2 separate regions of the Homo sapiens genome follow, and region 2 is linked to region 1. The links are contacts of gene promoters, found by promoter capture Hi-C in human tissues and cell types (Jung and others, 2019). All regions are on one chromosome and are shown on one strand. The core of a region is centred on a gene start or on the middle of the fragment in contact, and the rest is flanking DNA. Distances in the headings are between cores, read along the strand shown.

Region 1 (4,944 bases), core at 317-2,816:
TGGGGGCCATGCCTAGCGATCAGCTGTCCTGGGCCGCCCTCCTGCACTCCCATCTGACATATGCACCCCAGCATCTGGGACCCCTCTAGTTTCCCGGATCTGAGGTCTGAAGAGCAGCAGCCCAGCTAGGGTGATAGGAAGTGGGGGCAGAGGAAGGGTGGTCTGGGGTCCCTGGCCCAGGGCCAGGGGGCAGAATAGCGAGAGCCCATCCCTTTCAGGGTCAGGCGCCAAGCTCCAGGAGAGCCAAGCAAGAGCTGGGCCTGGTGCCCTGCAGGGAGGCGAGCGGCGTCTCCATGGTGACCGGGCTGCACACTGGACTTTTGTTGGTTGGGCTGGGGGAGGGGAGAGAGGTCACCGCTGGGCCAGGGAGCCCCGGACAGCTTTGGCCGGAGGCTTCGATTCTGTCCCCACCATCTCTTCCCCCAACCGTTCAGGGACCAGAGGCCCAGGATTGCTGGGCCCGGCCTCCCCTTCCCTCCACTCTGCCCCTGCCAGCTCTTTCCAGAGATGAATCGGGAAGGGAGGGCGGGGAGGCCATCCCTCCCCAGCAGTCCCAGGCTGTGTGGCCTGACAAGCCCATCCAACCCTTGTAGCTCACTTTTTCCTTCTGCAGTGGGGCCGACAAGGCACATTCCCGCCAAGCCCAGGCAGGGTAAGACTTCGGGACTCCCACCCTGTCCCAACCAGACCGCCACTCACCGTCTACGCCGAGACCGTGGGCCTGCGGGGGCAGCTCGGGGCGCCCGTCCTCGCGCAGCTCAAAGCGGAAGGCGGCCACGCGGCGGCTGATGTCCTGGTGCGGCGTGGCCTGCAGGAAGAGGGCCCGGCGCTCGCGGGGACCCCAGCGCACGCAGCGGCCCCCTGCCGGGCCCGGGCCCTCGGCCAGCAGCAGCTCCAGGGCGCCCCCTGCGCGCTCCGCGAAGACCTGGGCGCCCGCGAAGGGCCGCACCGGCCGCAGACAGGCGATGCCGGGCCGCGCTCTGGGATCGGGGCCGCCCAGGGTCAGGCGCAGCGCCCCAGCCGGGTACAGCCACTCAACCGCGCCCTCCGCACAGGCCAGGGCCAGCTGCCCCACGCTGCCGGGCTCCTGGGTGAGGCCGCTGGGGACAGGACGGGACGGGGCGCTGAGACGGGGGCGGGTCCCCGCCCGGCGCAGCCCCCGCTCCCTCCCGAGGCCGCCTCGCGGATGGGGAAACCGGCCCAGCGCTCTGCGCGCTCCGAGGGGCGCCTGGGGGGTCCTAGCCGCAGCGCACCCCGTCCTAAGTGCGGGGACAGCCCCCCGGACCGTACCTGCCCCTCCAGCTGCAGCGCTCCTCGGAGTAGCCGGCGCGGGCAGCCGGGGCCAGGAGGCCGCAGCACAGCGCGCAGAGCAGCGCCGCGGCCGGGAACCCCATGGCACGGCGGGCGGCGTCCGGGGAGTCGGGGCTCTCACCACCGCTGCCCCGGCGGGGCGCGGGTCCGGGCGGCGGCGGGAGCAGCCGGGGGCGCCGGCCGCCCGGCCCCGGCGAAGCCCCCAAGCCCGCGGCCGCTCCGCCTGCCGCGCAGCCCCAGCGCCGGGGCCGCCTTGGAGCGGGTCGGGAAGGGGGCGGGGCCTGCGGCGTGTCGGCCAGTCGCGGCGCGGCCCGGAACTTTCCGCCAATAGCAGGCGCGGGGCGGAGCGGGGGCGGGGCCGGAGCTCGGGCGCCGCCGGAGGACTATCCCACGGTCCAAGCGCCTCGAGGGTTGGGGGGGGCCTTGGCGCGGAAGGGAGGCTCCTTGCCCGCCCCGCGCTGTGCGTCTCTCCTTCGCCGCGCCCTCACCCTGGCCTCGCCCCCCGCGCTGTCCCGATCGGAGTCCTGGAGCCTCTGATGGAGCCGAGGTTTTGATGTCCACTGGAACCTCGGGGTGGCGGTAGGGAAGGTGGCCCACCTGGTGGTTCCGCCTCGCGGGCGGCCGGGCCTGCTCCTTCCTAACACTGGGACCTGGGCCTGTTGGCCACATCCCTCCCAACCAGGTCCGGTCCTGCTGACCAGAGGCCGGTGGAGCCCCAGAGGAGAGGGGTCATGACTCCAGAGGCGGGGAAGGCCTGGCCTGGGGGCTGCGCCTTGGAGCGGGGCCAGGCCTCGGGTTTTGGTAAGGCCGTCTGCAGGAGGGGGTCCTGCTGAAGAGCGCGCAGCCCGCAGGCTTAGGCCCCTTTCCTCAGACCTAGCGGCACCCCATAGTTGCCGGATGACCGACCCCGGGCCAGACGGGGCTCCTGGAGGGGCGTGAATGGAGCAGCCACGGGCACCCCTGCAGGCCTGCAGCACGTGGAGACACAGGAGCTGGGAGGACACCCCTGGGCCACAGGAGCAGCCCCCACCAAGATGAAACAAGCAGAAACAGGCGATTCGCAAACACACTGTAGCCTCAGGCTGGAGCAGTGTGGGATTCCCAGCATCCGGGACTGCTGAGTTGGCCTGATGGGAGGAAGTGGGCAGTGGCTGGCCAGGTGGACAGGAAGAGAATGGGGGAGAGCAGACAGCCTGGGTCAAGGGCCTGAGGAAGGAGCTCTTGGCAGCCCAGTGAAACCCCAGGGCATGGGTGGTGGGTGGGGACGACAGGTCAGATCACAGAAGGCCTAAGGCACAAGCAAAGGGGTCCCACTACATACTGAACCCCTTACGGACGACAGAAGCTTTAGCCGGGGACTGCAAGGACCAGCATAGACTGTGCAGCCTGAAGATGTGAACATTCCGTCCCCTGCCCCCAAACCTCCTGCCACCCGGCGCTCGAAACTCATGGTGGACAGATGAGTTCACCAGTGGCAGTCGGACAGATGAGGCCAGATGGCTCAGTGGCAGTGGGAGGCTGGATCCCACTGACCAGGCCCTCCCTCAACCCCAGGGCCCTCCCAGGCCAAACAGGAACAAGGCGCCTACTGGGCTCGGCCAGCCCCTTGCTCTGGGCGAGGTGCAGGTCAGAAGTAGCCATCACAATCCCCAAAAGGTGGAAGACTCCCAAAGGCCTGTCTGCAGCTGAGTGGACAAGCAAGTGCAGTGGGTCCATTTTTTTTTTTTTTTTTGAGACGGAATCTCGTTCTGTCGCCCAGGCTGGAGTGCAGTGGCTCGATCTCGGCTCACTGCAACCTCTGCCTCCTGGGTTCATGCCATTCTCCTGCCTCAGCCTCCCGAGCAGCTGAGACTACAGGCGCCCGCCACCACACCCGGCTAAATTTTTGTATTTTTTCTTTTTTTAGTAGAGAGGGTGTTTCACCGTGTTAGCCAGGATGGTCTCGATCTCCTGACCTCGTGATCTGCCCGCCTTGGCCTCCCAAAGTGCTGGGATTACAGATGTGAGCCACCGCGCCCGGCCTCTTTTTTTTTTTTTTTTTTTTTTTTTTTTTTGAGATGGAGTTTCGCTCTTTGCCCAGTCTGGAGTGCAATGGCGCGATCTTGGCTCACTGCAACCTCCACCTCCTGGGTTCAAGCGATTCTCCTGCGTCAGCCTCCCGAGCAGCTGGGATTACAGGCATGTGCCATCATGCCGGCTAATTTTGTATTTTTAGTAGAGACGAGGTTTCTCCATGCTGGTCAGGCTGGTCTTGAACTCCCGACCTCAGGTGATCCGCCCACCTCAGCCTCCCAAAGTGTTGGGATTACAGGCATGAGCCACGGCACCCCCTGGCGGTGGGTCCATTATTAAGCCATAAAAAGGAATGAAGTTCTGGTCCCTTGACACCCGCTACAGCCTGGATGAGCCTGGAGGCTTATGCGCTGAGCAAAATAAGCCAGAGACAAAAGGACAAACACTGTTGGATTCCACTTCTGTGAGTCACCTTAGAGTAGTCACGGTCATGAGGACAGAAAGTGGAGCAGGGGCTGGGGAGGGGAATGAGGGATTGGAGCTTAATGGGGACAGAATTCAGGAGCTTGATTACACAACACAAATGTACTCAACAGTACGGAACTGCACACTTTAAAATGGGTAAAATGGTAGATGTTATGATGTATATCTTACAATTAAAAATAAAAATTGTCAAGGCGCAGCGGCTCCCACCTGTAATTTCAGCAGTTTGGGAGGCCAAGGCAGGGAGATCACAAGGTCGGGAGTTCGAGACCAGCCTGGCCAACATGGTGAAACCCCATCTCTACTAAAAATACAAAAATTAGCTGGACGTGGTGGCGCACGCCTGCAGTCCTAGCTACTTGGGAGGCTGAGACAGGAGAACCGCTTGAACCCGGGAGGTGGAGGTTGCAGTGAGCTGAGATCAGGCCACTGCACTCCAGCCTGGGTGACAGAGTGAGAGTCTGTCTCATAAAAATTAATTAATTAATTACATAAAAATTAAGGCCGGGTGTGGCAGCTCCTGCCTGTAATCTCAGCACTTTGGGAGGCTGAGGCAGGATGATCGCTTGACATCAGGAGTTCAAGACCAGCCTGGCCAACATGTTGAAACCCCAACTCCACTAAAACTACAAAAATTAGCTGGGTGCAGCAGCTCATGCATGTAGTCTTAGCACTTTGGGAGGCTGTGGCAGGAGGATTGCTTAAGCCCAGGAGGGTGAGGCTGCAGTGAGCTGTGATTGCACCACTGCACTCCAACCAGGGCGACAGAAGAGACCCTGTCTCAATAAAAATTAAAAAATAAATAAATAAAATATAAAAATCGTAAAGGTTAAAGGGTAGACTCGGCCTGGGGCTGAGCACATGAGGTGCTCGCAGAGGTGGGGAGAGGCACACGGGTCGGCCGCTGCAGCCACCCAGCCGTCCAGGGCTGCTGCCGCTTGGCGGTCCCCGGGTCAGCACGGTGGGCTCCAGGCGCCCTCTGGTGGCGGCGTGAGGGTCAGCCCCAGACACCCTCCTGACAGCCTGGGCCCCGGACTTCTCCCCAGGCCTCCTCCAGAGAGGGGCCAGTGTCTGTGGTTGGAGGGAGGGGTTCCTGGGGTGACCTGGTCTGGAATGGCACATGCCTGGCCCCGAGTT
Region 2 (5,377 bases), core at 474-2,973, 130 kb before region 1:
GAGACCTAGAGATAAACGGGGCACAGTAACCACCCGAGAAATCGTCCCACATGCGGCCAGGTACCGCCCAATGAGAACAACACGAGAAATCGTCCCACACACACGGCCAGGTACTGTCCGATGAGAACAACCCGAGAAATCATCCCACATGCGGCCAGGTACCGTCCGACAAGAACCCGAGAAATCGTCCTACACACGGCTAGGTACCTTCTGACGAGAACGGCCAGAGAAATCGTCCCACATGTGGCCAAGTACCATCCGACGAGAACAACCCAATAAATCGTCCCACACACGTGGCCAGGTACCTTCCAATGAGAACAACCTGAGAAATCGTCCCACGCATGCGGCCAGGTACCTCTGACGAGAACAGCCCGAGAAATCGTCCCACACGCAGCCACGTACCTTCCAATGACAACAACCCGAGAAATCATCCCACACACGGCCACATACCTTCCGACGAGAACTAGGTACCTTCCGACAAGAACAACCCGAGAAATCATTCCACACATGCAACCAGGTACCTTCTGACAACAACAACCACAGAAATCATCCCCCACGCGGCCAGGTACCGTCCAACGAGAACGACCAGGTACCTTCCGACAAGAACAACCAGGTACCTTCCGACGAAAATGACCCGAGAAATTGTCCCACATGCAGCCACGTACCTTCCAATGAGAACAACCCGAGAAATCATCCCACACACGGCCACATACCTTCCAACGAGAACAACCAGTACCTTCCGATGAGAACAACCAGGTACCTTCCGATGAGAACAACCCGAGAAATCATTCCACACATGCAACCAGGTACCTTCTGACAACAACGACCCAAGAAATCGTCCCACACGCAGCCAGGTACCTTCCAACGAGGACAACCAGGTGTCTTCCGACAAGAACAACCAGGCACCTTCCAACGAGAACAACCAGGTACCTTCCGATGAGAATGACCCAAGAAATTGTCCCACACGTGGCCTGGTACCTTCCGACAAAGGCTCTGAGACCATTCAATGGGAAGAGGACAGCCTTTTCAGCAAATGGTACTGGGAAAGCTTTATCTCCACATGCAAAATAATGAATGAAGCTGGCCCCTTACCTAACAGCATACACAAAAATTAACCCAAAAAACATAGGATGAAACACCTAAATGTAAGAGCTAAAACTGTAAGACTCAGAATAAAACCTGGGAAAATCTTAAGGACATTGGATTTGGCAGTGTTTTCTTGGATATGACAACAACAGCACCGGCAACAACACAGAAAATAAATTGGACTTCATCAAAATTTGACATTTCTGGCCGGGTACAGTGGCTCACACCTGTAATCCCAGCACTTTGGGAGGCCAAGGCAGGCGGATCACCTGAAGTCAGGAGTTTGAGACCAGCCTGGCCAACATAGTGAAACCCCGTCTGTGCCAAAAATACAAAAATTAGCCTGGCGTGGCAGGCACCTGTAGTCCCAGCTACTCGGGAGGCTGAGGCAGAAGAATCGCTTGAACCCGGGAGGCAGATGTTGCAGTGAGCTGAGACCGTACCACTGCACTCCAGCCTGGGCAATAGAGTAATATTCTGTCTTTAAAAAAAAAAACTGTGGCTATAAGTGAGACTGCAGAGCTGCCCCGGGCTGCTGTCTGTGGAAGCCCTGCCCTGCGGGAGCAGCCACAGCTGTAACCCCACCTCTGAAGTAAAGCTGTTTCCTTCCACCTCTGGCTCGACCTTGAATTCTTTCCTGGGCAAAGCCAAGAACCCTCTGGGACTAAGCTCCTCTTTCGGGCTCGTCTGCCATGCATCAGAATGATGTGGCCACGTGGAGACTGTCTGGGGGTTCCTCGAAATGTTCAGTGTAGACGGATGACCACATGACCCCGCAACTCCACGTCTGCACGTAGACCCGGGAGAGCTAGAAACGGCGACCACGTGACCCCGCAACTCCACGTCTGCACGGAGACCCGGGAGAGCTAGAAACGGGGACCACGTGACCCCGCAACTCCACGTCTGCACGTAGACCTGGGAGAGCTAGAAACGGGAACCACGTGACCCCGCAACTCCACATCTGCATGTAGACCCGGGAGAGCGGGAAACGGGGACCTGGGTGTGCTTGCACCGGAACGTTTGCAGCAGCCCAGAGGTGGGGACAGCCCAGATGAACAGACCAGGTGTGCTCACCCATGAGCATTACGCAGCCGCAAAGAGGAGCGAGGCCCCGACGCTCAGATGAGCCTTGAGAACCTGATGCCCAGTGAACCCGCCAGACACAGAGGGCACCGGTCCTGCGATGCCGTCTCTGGAATGTCCAGAACAGGGAAACCCACAGAGACGCTGGGCAGGGAGAAGGTGGACGGCTCTCGGGGCTGCTGGCAGGAACAGGGAGAGCGGGCATGACGGCTCACAGGTCCAGAAGGTTCTCTGGCGGGTGATGAAAATATCTGGAATTAGGCAGAGATGCTGGTTGTGCGTGTGGCCAATGTGTTACGTGCACCACACTGCTGACCTTTAAGTGGTTAATTTTATGTAAATGTCAACTTCACCTCAATGTTTTGAAATACAGCAAAGCAAAGCAGAGTGTCTTAAGCGTCCTGAGACCCTGGGCCTCCCTGCCTCAGGGCCCAGACCCTCACCCTGCCAGAAGGTCCAGTGGGGCTCAGGATGCCGGGCAGGGAACGCGCTTCACTCCTTCTCTGTGGCGTGCATGGGGCTGGAGCCGCTTAAGACCAAGGCTCAGTGCACCTGGATGCTGGTTAACCCGAAAGTGCCGTACGGAGCCACCAGTGGTCCCACAAGCTCTGATGATGGCCGCAGTCACGGACATGCAAACTTTGATTCACTGAGGACCACGCGAGCAAATGACAGGTGATGCCGGCAATTCTCAGCCCACTGCTGCCTGGATAGCTTGCCCCTTACGCCGCGAGCCAGGCTGCCCACCCAGCCCACACCCGGGCCCACCTGGCGCTTAGCAAATGGCCTTCCCACATCACGCTGGTGGCTTTCCGCACCACCCAGTGTTCACCTGGGCTCCCACACACCAGCAGGAGGCAGCAAGCAGGCACCTCCCTCCCATCTTGCTCCAAGCGCTGTGTGCGGGAGGGATGGAAACCTCCAGGCGCTGGGAAGAAGCACCCCAGGCACTAGGCAGGGGAAGGCTGGGGGGCCTCCGTGCCCACCCCCAGGTCTGAGCGCATTGGGGAACCCGGGGCACCGGGAGGGTTTGCGGACAGTGCCACCCTCCCTGCAGGGCTGCGGCCACCTTACTTTGCCTGGGCCGCCTGGCCAGGGGCCGCAGCTGACCCGCTGAGTCTGGGTTGGTGGCTCACCGTTCTAGGGTTTACACCTGACCCAGTGTGATCTATACCTGCCCAGGTCATACCACACTGTCCAAACTGTTACAGCTTTCAAACCAGCCCTGGACTGGCCGTCATAGCCGCCTTGATTGTCGTTGGCCCATTGCTGGAAGCAAGTTGGCGAAAGCTTCCGTCAGCTCTGACGGTTGGTGTGCAGACAGATGGCGGGCCGCAACATCCTTTCCTCCCCTCCCTGAGCCTCTTTTTCTCTTGGGTGGCAGGTGGGGCCATCTCCTCTGCCTCATCTTTTTCCTAACCTGGAAGTTGTTCCTTAAACACCTGCCCACGGTGGGCTACTGTGAAGCCCTTCACCCGCAGCCATGTGGACATGCTGGAGGAACATCAACAGACTCTCATCTGAACAACAAAAAAGAGGAAAGAACACTCAGCAAAGGAAAGAAGAGGCACTGAGCCAGGTCAGCACCCCGGGCCGCTGGGAGAAGGTACCTAGTCCAGATGATATGGGACACACAGGGGTTTACAGGAAACCGCGACACATTACAGACACGGGACACACACGGGTTTACAGGAAACCGGGACACATTACAGACACGGGACACACACAGCTTTACAGGAAACCAGGACCCATTACAGACACGGGACACACACGGGTTACAGGAAACCGGGACACATTACAGACACGGGACACACACGGGTTACAGGAAACCGGGACCCATTACAGACACGGGACACACACGGGTTACAGGAAACCGGGACACATTACAGACACGGGACACACACGGGTTACAGGAAACCGGGACCCATTACAGACACGGGACACACACGGGTTACAGGAAACCGGGACGCATTACAGACACGGGACACACACGGGTTACAGGAAACCGGGACGCATTACAGACACGGGACACACACGGGTTACAGGAAACCGCGACACATTACAGACACGGGACACACACGGGTTTACAGGAAACCGGGTCACATTACATACACGGGACACACACGGGTTACAGGAAACCGGGACCCATTACAGACACGGGACATACACGGGTTACAGGAAACCGGGACCCATTACAGACACGGGACACACACGGGTTTACAGGAAACCAGGACCCATTACAGACACGGGACACACACGGGTTACAGGAAACCGGGACGCATTACAGACACGGGACACACACGGGTTACAGGAAACCGGGACGCATTACAGACACGGGACATACGTGGGTTTACAGGAAACCGGGATCCATTACAGAACAACGTCAGTGAACCCCAAGCTGCAATGATCTAGCAAAAAGGTGAGAAAATACAAATAGCCAATATCAAGAAGAAAAGATATCACCACAAATCCACAGAGATGCTACAGGAATAATAAGGTAATATTATGAACAACTTTATTCTAATCAACTCAGCACCCTACATTAAATGAGAAACACTCCGTGAAAGGCACAGATTACTAAAACGAACGCTAGCCCAAACCCTAATCCTCTCCCTACAGCCGACGAAGAAAGAAAGCCCAAGAGTCCCATAATAATTGAAGAAACTGAATTTGGGCCGGGCGCAGTGGCTCACGCCTGTCATCCCAGCATTTTAGGAGGCCCAGGCAGGTGGATCACCTGAGGACAGGAGTTTGAGACCAGCCTGGCCAACATGGTGAAATCCCGTCTCTACCAAAAATACAAAAACTAGCCCCCATGATGGTGCACACCTGTAATCCCAGGTACTCGGGAGGCTGTGGCAGGAGAATCACTTGGACCCGGGAAGCAGAGGTTGCAGTGAGCGGAGATCGCACCATTGCACTCTAGCCTCGGTGACAGAGTGAGGCTCCATCTCAAAAAAAGAAAAAAGAAATTGAATTTGTAATTTAAAATTTTCCACAAAGAAAACTTGAGGCCAAGATGTGTTCACTGGCGAGTTCCATGCAATACTCGGTAGAGAAATAACACTGCCCTATCCAAGCTCTTCCAGAAAATGGAGGAGGAGAAGCCTCATACGCCCACCAGGACGGGAGGAGGCAGCCACTCTGGAGAAGTGTCAGTTCTGGAAACATGAAGCGTGAACTTCCTCAGGAAGCAGCCACTCCACTC

What was found. The method cuts DNA at HindIII sites, captures the fragments that hold promoters and counts their contacts. A contact is called where the count stands out against the background at its distance.
Region 2: a contact is called between a fragment that was not itself captured here and the fragment with the promoter of METRN in region 1, in 4 of the 25 tissues and cell types used here (dorsolateral prefrontal cortex, lymphoblastoid cells, mesendoderm cells and 1 more).

Annotation. Positions count from the first base shown.
Region 1 is chr16:711,740-716,683 of GRCh38, reverse strand. METRN (meteorin, glial cell differentiation regulator) reads right to left here and starts at 1,566. Exons shown (of 4, transcript NM_024042.4): 1 at 1,291-1,566; 2 at 700-1,100. The coding sequence starts at 1,394. RefSeq lists enhancers at 1-157, 158-755, 756-1,353, 1,952-2,550 and silencers at 808-867, 968-1,397, 1,498-1,807, 4,695-4,824. The HindIII fragment of the contact is 3,141 bases long and covers 814-3,954 here.
Region 2 is chr16:845,701-851,077 of GRCh38, reverse strand. No RefSeq gene overlaps it. Among named protein-coding and RNA genes, the nearest start is that of GNG13, 48 kb to the right of the region's middle. The HindIII fragment of the contact is 6,946 bases long and covers 1-5,196 here.